Regions from separate parts of the Homo sapiens genome. Here all the other regions are linked to region 1. The links are contacts of gene promoters, found by promoter capture Hi-C in blood cells and fetal thymus (Javierre and others, 2016). All regions are on one chromosome and are shown on one strand. The core of a region is centred on a gene start or on the middle of the fragment in contact, and the rest is flanking DNA. Distances in the headings are between cores, read along the strand shown. Region 1 holds the start of AGBL3 (AGBL carboxypeptidase 3). Region 2 holds the start of LINC03060 (long intergenic non-protein coding RNA 3060). Region 3 overlaps AKR1B1 (aldo-keto reductase family 1 member B).

The links. The method cuts DNA at HindIII sites, captures the fragments that hold promoters and counts their contacts. A CHiCAGO score of 5 or more calls a contact.
Region 2: a fragment that was not itself captured here is called in contact with the fragment with the promoter of AGBL3 in region 1 in 2 of 17 cell types (naive B cells and total B cells); the score reaches 5.4 in naive B cells.
Region 3: a contact is called between a fragment that was not itself captured here and the fragment with the promoter of AGBL3 in region 1, in 6 of 17 cell types (non-activated CD4 T cells, naive CD4 T cells, total CD4 T cells and 3 more). The highest score is 7.4, in non-activated CD4 T cells.

The regions. Positions count from the first base shown.
Region 1 is chr7:134,985,178-134,987,952 of GRCh38, reverse strand. It overlaps AGBL3 (AGBL carboxypeptidase 3), which reads right to left and starts at 1,445. Exons shown (of 17, transcript NM_178563.4): 1 at 1,252-1,445; 2 at 1-78. The coding sequence starts at 19. RefSeq lists enhancers at 754-1,013, 1,094-1,233, 1,244-1,543. The HindIII fragment of the contact is 3,121 bases long and covers 1-2,501 here.
Region 2 is chr7:134,430,893-134,433,667 of GRCh38, reverse strand. It overlaps LINC03060 (long intergenic non-protein coding RNA 3060), which reads left to right and starts at 1,248. Exons shown (of 3, transcript NR_183392.1): 1 at 1,248-1,354. The HindIII fragment of the contact is 2,443 bases long and covers 185-2,627 here.
Region 3 is chr7:134,449,743-134,452,517 of GRCh38, reverse strand. AKR1B1 (aldo-keto reductase family 1 member B) reads left to right here. Exons shown (of 10, transcript NM_001628.4): 2 at 765-932; 3 at 1,616-1,732; 4 at 2,721-2,775. Among named protein-coding and RNA genes, the nearest start is that of AKR1B1, 8.0 kb to the left of the region's middle. The HindIII fragment of the contact is 5,053 bases long and covers 1-2,775 here.

The DNA of each region.
Region 1 (2,775 bases), core at 196-2,695:
TTTCTGAATCTTCTGACATCTTTTCCAGTGTTTGACTTGAGATTTCTTGTAATATACGGGTAGGCTGTAAAACAATTTCTAAGGAAATTATATGACAGCTTTTCTTTTCAAGCTGTAGGTGTTTACTACATTAAATGAGTACTCAAAAATATATTCAATTGTATTTAACAGTCACAACAGTCTTCTCTAAAAACTAATTAGAATACAACTAATAAAACCTTCAATTTCAAAGAGTTAAAGGAATTTTCCATGACTATACGAGACAACAACCACAATAAGACAAATCAAGCAAATCATTTAATTAAAAGGAATTTCCAGAGTATACAGCCAAATCATTCACATTTTATATTTACAATTAAATACTACACAGCAAGTTCAGAATGATCCTGAGGCATTAAAAGATAATGAATTTAAAAATTATAGTCACTTACTGAAATGTAGCAATATAATTTTAAGTTTTCTCCTTGATTTTCACTTGACCAAAAGTTCAAGTGACAAGACTTTACATTTTGATTATTATTCTGTAGATACTGTCTGTTCTAATATTCATTTATATTATTCTTATTCTTAGAAATCTAAATAGCTACCAGAAGGTTGTATTGGTAATGACCATTACCATTCTATGCAAGTATCTTCCCATGTGGGTAATATCAAGACCAGGGAATAATCGAAATTTCTTGTCAAGTTCCCATCGTTCTTGAGAGACCAAAGGACTCGACAATTTCAAATCTATTAGTTTACGCCCCTCTCTACAGGAAGCGTGTTTTGGAGCGTGGACTACATATAAGTTAAGTCCAAGCTCTATGGCAAATCACTGCCAATGCCACGGAACCGACTGTCTCATAGATGACACCTTCAGTCCTAAGAAACTGAAGTTTCTGCCTGGGCATCACAACTCCACATTTGGAAAATCCGACTGGCCTAAATTCCATTCCTTACAGGTGCACACAGGGCGCACGAAGTGCTGACCTGCTGCGGATACAGCTCTGGTCTCAGGAAACGGCCCTTATCCACCGGCGCTCCGCGGGTGTCTTCCACCACTGCGGAGGAGGGGCAGATGCGGGCGCGTCCACGCTTAGCCGCGTCCCGACAGTACCAAGGCGTTTTTGGCGGGAAGCACGATGAGGCCACAACTCCGGGCGGCCGAGTTCCTTCCCGCACTCACTCCTGGACACCTTGGTGTGGGGAGGCGCTCATTTTCCGGGGCGCGCTCGCTTCCCGCAGGGGGCGCCCCGCCTTACTTCTGCATACCTCACCGTCCTGTCGGGGCCGGCACCTCGCTCCCACGCGAGTCCTCTGGCCAGGCCAGTCGTCGCTTCCGTGCGGGGAGAATATCTCGGGATCTCGCGATCTCGCGGAGAACCCGGTATCCAGCCGCTAGAAGTAACGCCACTGCTGGAGATCCGCAGCCCCAGCCACACTCCCAACTCTCGTCATCAGGCAACGGGTCCGCCCTCGCGAGACTTCGGACAGCCTTCGGAGATCACCTAGCAACCAGCTCGGAGGAAAGGAGCCTGCGTAGGTTTTGGCTCCAGGAAGAGGGATCCCAGAGGATGCCGGGAACTCGGGGTGGGCCGCAGGGCGGTCAGAGAGGCTCTCAGAGAGGCTTTGGGGTCTGTCGGGAGAATTTAGGAGTGGGGAAGACCGGGCAGCTATTTATTCCCAGTGGTCTGCACTTCGGCTGTTGCCTCAGAGGAGGCAGTAGAGCATGCTGGTTAGGACTGTGCTTTGGAGCCCACCTGACTTTTAACAGTGTGACATTGAACAAATTAATTACCTGGACTTCATGGGTACAATACTTGTAACTACTACTTGGAGATGTTAGAATATTAAAAAGTACGTTGGTCTTGATTTTTTACAGACTGAGTTCCATTCTACACAATTGTGCGATTAATTCGCTTATTCGATTCTGGAAAATGAGGCTTTTCTCCTTAAATACTAAATGGAGAGTCATAGATGAACTAGGGTGAATTCTCAAAATTATCAGCTCAGAGATTCTTTATAGCAATCGTCAGCTAGCATATTTAACACTGTTTTCCTGATGACTGCAAATCACTATATGTAGTCTCATTTAGTTAACAGACGTTATTCATGAACATCCCATATTGATTTTTTCCCTCATCTTTAGCTCTACAGGGTAAGGTAATCTATTTGGAAAAGTTTTCCAAGTACAGCTGAAAAAAAGTCTAGATTTTGATGATATAAGAATGTAAATAAACACTTTTCACAAAGCGTTATATGTCATGAGATTCGTGATATTGTAGAAATGGAGATAATAAATGGTAGCAAGTTTGAAAGTAGAATAAAGGGCAAAGCACTATGGCTTAAGCATGGAAATGGGTTAACATAATCTCTTTGTATTTTGTAAGTATCTGAAAATAGGTGTTTTTGAGGTCAGCAGTTTAAAAGTATGAACCTTCCAGATTAGACCTTGGCCAGAGAATATTAATAGAGTATATCTTAGATCAACCTCTTGAAAAGTAGCTCTTATAGTTGAAGCTTGTTTTATGCCATACATAAATCACTAAAGGTGACATGCACAGAGAAATCTTTATTTATGTAATCTGTTTTTCTGTTGGATTTTAGTCATGGCTGCAAGCCATAGGATGTCAGCTGTACAAGGTAAAACTGAGAAATGGTCTAACCAGGTTATATAAGAAATTAATGGCAGGGCTGAGAGACTTAAGTCTCGTGATTTTTAGTCCAAATAGTTATATTATCACATACCAAGTAGTCCATGGGAAGAAAAATGATCTTAATGCATAATTTTAAAAA
Region 2 (2,775 bases), core at 157-2,656, 550 kb after region 1:
ACTTTGCATAATTTTCTGTACAGGGAGAAATACGGCAATAATTTCTTCTTCTTCTTCCTCTTTTTTTTTTTTTTTTTTTTTTGAGACAGGGTCTTGCTCTGTCACCCAGACTTGAGTGCAGTGATGCGATCATGGCTCACTGCAGCCTCAACTTCCCCAGCTCAAGCAATCCTCCCAGTAAGCTTCCCAAGTAGCTGGGACTACAAGTGTGCACAACCATACCTGGCTTTTTTTTTTCTTAATGTAGAGTCTCACAATGTGGCCCAGGCTGGGCAATAATTTCTTCATGGTGGGGTGAGGGAGGACAGAACAGGCCATTCTAGGTTAGATGTTTCTAAGTTGGGCACAGCATGTGTAAAGCCTGTTCGTTCCTGGGACTGTGTGGAGGGCAGATGATATTCCTACCAAAAAGAAAGCAGGTGAAAAGTTAGATAACATGAAGAGTTGAAGGAAGTACGTAGCTCCAACTACTGTGTGGTAGAATTCTTCCCTGACCCCAGCACCTGCCCTCTCGATGTATGTGATTCAAATGCTGCTTGGCTAGAATGGGATATACACCAGCTGGTCTCTGCCGGGTCCCTGGCCTGCCTTCCTCACCAGAACATCCCTGACAGTGCCTAGGCAGTCTGGGTGCGCTTGGTCCTACAGCAAGGACCGGTAGGCTTCCGAGCACCATGGCCAAGCAAAGGGGGCGAAGGAAGCCTCGGTCATCGAGTTCAGCCTGTGTGAGCAAAAGGAAGTCCCCATCCACACTCGCCACTCCCCGTCCTTAGCCTCCTGAGCTTATAGTGTGGTGTATGCTTCCCCCTTCTGGCCACAAATGGTCAACAATGATTTTTGGTAATCCCTGGTGGGAGGCCCTGCTTACTGCTGGGAAGTGGACCTTCCTAGTAACAGCGACGACAATGATACTGTTGCCAGAGCTATTGATGGAAGTGGTACAATCCAATAGGTGCAGTAAAAAGCCCTTTACATACACTGTCTCATTTAATCCTCAAAGCCAGGGGTCCCCAACTCCCGGGGCCACAGACCGGTACCAGTCCATGGCCTGTTAGGAACGGGGCCGCACAGCAGGAGGCGTGCGATGGGCGAGCGAGCAGAGCTTCATCTGTTTTTACAGCCACTCCCCTCTCGCATTACCGCCTGAGCTCCGCTTCCTGTCGGGTCAGCAGCGGCATTAGCGTCTCATAGGAGCATGAACCCTACTGTGAACTGCGCATGCGAGGGATCTAGGCTGCGCGCTCCTTATGAGAATCTAACGCCTGATGACCTATCACTGTCTCCCATCACTCCCAGATGGGACCGTCTAGTTGCAGGAAAACAAGCTCAGGGCTCCCACTGATTCTACATTATGGTGAGTTGTATAATTATCTCATTATGTATTAAAATGTAATAATAATATCCCGAAACCACCTCCCCACCGCCAGGTCTGTGGAAAAATTGTTTTCCACAAAACCAGTTCCCGGTGCCAAAAATGTTGGAGACTGCTGCTCAAAGCAATTTTGTAAGGGATGTATTATTATCCCCACTAAACAGAAGACAAACTAAGACACAGCAGTTAAATGACTTGTGCAAAATACGTGCTGATAAACGCAGCAGGGCGGGGGTTCACGCCTAGGTGTGTCAGGCTTCAAAGTCCGCGCTCTGGGCCACTGTGAACATTCCCGTTTCTGACGGGCTGTATTCTGGGTGGGGTATCCTCTGTCAACAGAGACATCTGTCAGACCATTCCTGCCCTTTTACTTCCATCAGTCCACATTCTGGCATCTTCCGTGTCATTTTTCCTCTTCACTTCTTGTGCTCCTCGGCAGATCTATGACCATCCCAGCCTCTTTCTTTTCTTCCTGATCTTTGGGCAATTCGCCTCCCTCCTGCTTGCTTCAAACATTCACTCTTGTGCAGCAGTTCTTTTCTTATTTATTTATTTTTTGAGATAGAGTCTCACTCTGTCGCCCAGCCTGGAGTGCAGTGGCGCTATATCGGCTCACTGCCACCTCCGCTTCCCAGGTTCAAGCGATTCTCTTGCCTCAGCCTTCTGAGTAGCTGGGATTATAGGCACCTGCCACCACACCCGGCTAATTTTTGTATTTTTAGTAGAGATGGGGTTTCGCCATGTTGGCCAGGCTGGTCTTGAACTCCTGACCTCAAGCCATCTGCCCGCCTTGGCCTCCCAAAGTGCTGGGATTACAGGTGTGAGCCACCGTGCATGGCCCATGCAGCAGTTCTTAAACTGGCACCCACAAGAGGTCTGGATTGAATCCGAGAGGTCTGTGAACATGGACATGGAAAATATTACATTCTATCGTGAATATAGAGAACAGAAGTGGGGCCTGTAACTTTGTCACAAATAGAAAGTCACAGCTCTTGCTATATCCCATTACTGTTACTAGGAATATCTCACGATGTCATCTATGTGCATCACTACTTTGAAATTACCAGAGTTATTAAACCTGTCACTAGACCTGTTATTTAGTCGTTAATAAAAAGCCTATATATTATCATATTACAAATTTGGTTTTTAAAAATATTGTGATAGCAGTCTTTCAAAACTAAAGAATTCCTTGGTAATCTTGTGTGTTTAATTTTATGTACTTAAAAACATTTTTCTTAGAAGGGCTCCAAAAGCTTCCGCAGCTTGCCAAGGGGATCCTGGCATGAAAAATGATGAAAAGAAAACACACTATCCTTGATTTTATGCCAGCTTTGCACCTCCTGACCCAGCCCATATAATGTAACAGTGACCCCCTGTAAGAGGGTTGCACTTCTCCAAATAGG
Region 3 (2,775 bases), core at 185-2,684, 540 kb after region 1:
GATGGTCAGGTGGCTTGGCCATGGACACCCATTCAGTCATTTTGCCAGGTCAGCCACTAACCATTTGGTGATCTTCCATGATCCACATTCCCCCTCGTTTCCCTTTAACTTATTTCTCTCTGCTGATACCTCTGAGGGGCCATCTCCCGTGTCTCCACCCCTTGAAGCAGATCCTCATACAGTGAGAATTGACACATGGGCCTTTGAATAAACATCAGTGATGTGCTTAACTTCATGATAATCTCCCAGAACCGCTTGAAAACAAGCGACTGCCGGTATCAGAAGCCATGCATGAAAAGAGAGCGTAAGGGGCAGGCATTCACTGGCTGAACTGGGGAGCCACATGGGAATTGGGGTCCATAGGACATCTATTTTTGAAATATTTTGAGATATTTGAAGGAAATGGTTTCCCTTACTATCTCAGCATTCAGAGTGTGGGGAAATGTTTTTAATACAGTGGTTTGCAAATCAGTGGATGTGAAGAAGCAAGAAAATGAGATGGCTTCAGCATATCTTTTAAAAGTGATCTCACCTACACTTAAGTGGCTGTCAGATTCTCCTACAGGGCAATGCTGTGTGGCCTTTCACTTCCATCCCCCGCGTCTGAGGCTGATAGTCCAGAATGCTGCTGAGGAAGTGCACGTGGTCTGTCTTTGCTGAACAAAGTGGCAGGCTGGTCAGCAGGTATCGGTGGCTGCCACTGCCCCTCCTCCTTGCTGTGCAGACTCTGCATTCTGCGGGGCTCACGTTCTTTCTCCTTTCAGTCCCCTCCAGGGCAGGTGACTGAGGCCGTGAAGGTGGCCATTGACGTCGGGTACCGCCACATCGACTGTGCCCATGTGTACCAGAATGAGAATGAGGTGGGGGTGGCCATTCAGGAGAAGCTCAGGGAGCAGGTGGTGAAGCGTGAGGAGCTCTTCATCGTCAGCAAGGTATCGTTCCGCGGTGGGGCTGGAAGGGGCTCTCGGTCCCATCATCTGTTGGTGCATCAGCCCAAAGCCAAGTCCACACTCAATACAGCTACACTTTTCACTGATGGGCGATTCTTCCCGGGGAAACGTATCACCCACGGCCATACAGGGCTCCAGAGCTCGCCCATCCTTGGCTCTCTGTTGAATGGTCATTCCATCTGGGCCCATTGCTTAGAGTCCCGTGCTGATGAGGCTGAGGTTGTGGATTGGCCCTCCCTTTCCAGGGAGTCGCTTTCAAGGATGGAACTTGGTTCCCATCTGCAAACTGAATCTCCAGTGCTAGCCACTGTCTTTGACCTGAGATACTGATGCACAAAGGACATGAGGCAGGAGGATGGGGCTGGCTCCACAAACACCAGCCCGGGGGGAAAGTTTCGAGAGTTCTTGCTTAGGCCTAGGGCAGGCTAGCCAATCTGTCCATTCCATTTTGTGTCCTCTGGTCCTTGTAAGAGGTCTCTGTGACCTGGTCATCCTGCCTGCCTTTGGAAAGTTAGGATCCAGTACGCAGTGGAAATGCCCTCACAACCATTCACAGCATCATGGTAAAGCAAATGGGTTTTGGGGAGAGGAGACTGCTCTGTCTTTCCAGCCAGGAAGCTGCCTTGTGGCTGGCAATGATGACATGTGCCCTCTCGCTGGCTTAGCTGTGGTGCACGTACCATGAGAAGGGCCTGGTGAAAGGAGCCTGCCAGAAGACACTCAGCGACCTGAAGCTGGACTACCTGGACCTCTACCTTATTCACTGGCCGACTGGCTTTAAGGTATGGGATGCCTGGTGCAGACCAGGTCCCTTGGGGCTCAGGTGCAACCTGTGGTGTGTTTTGAGCTCCCTTAGCAGATTACGTGTGGGTGACTTTCTGTTCTTGCTGCTCAAGGTATAGCCAGTGGACCATCAGCACTGGCATCACCTGGGAGCGTCTTAGAAATCACAGTCTCGGGCCCCACGCAGGCCATTTGAATCCGCACCAGCAGTGACTCATACGCACACTTCTTCAAAGTTTGAGGAGCACTGCTCTTTGCCAGTTGGTAGATGTGCAATTTAAAACTGTCAGCAAACACAGCTGCTGTCTGTAGTGCACACAGCCATGAGGCACGGTCAGCCCTGGCCCTCCCCTCCAGGCACGTGCACACACCAACCCCCATACACATGAGTCCCTACCCACGTTCTACATGCATACCCTGTCCTGTGGAGGCCCGGTAACTATTTGCAGTCTAGTTGTTGGCACAAGAAGAACTTGAGAGTTACTTTGTCTTTTGCCTTTTTTCTAGCCACTGCCTCAGTTTTCTGCTGTGAGCCAGGTTCAAAGTGTGGGTTTAGCTTTATCCCGTAGCCCTGTTTTATTGCACCACAGCATATCAGGGCTGAAGGGACTTGACTTTTATCTTTTGATTTTAGGGGTAAGCTGGGGAGGCTGGGCCAGGTGGTAGTTTTATAGGCCAGTGACCCGCCAGGCCTTGGGCCCTGTGAGTCCTGGTCTTGAGTCCTTCCTGTATCCACACATTGCAGTCAGTGGCGGGGCTAGTCTCTGTGACCAAGTAGTGTCCATGTCTCCGTCTGACAGTCTCAGCTCCAGCCCGTTTGATAAAGAAGTGTTGGCTATCTGCCTATTTCCTTTTCATAGTGGCACACAGATTATCCCTAGCCAGCTGTGGTGGTTTAGAATTGTTTTAGATGCCAGCTTCCCCCAGCAGGTCTGTGAAGGACTATTACTGATTGTTTTGTTTGTTTGTTTTTTATTGTAATGACAGCCTGGGAAGGAATTTTTCCCATTGGATGAGTCGGGCAATGTGGTTCCCAGTGACA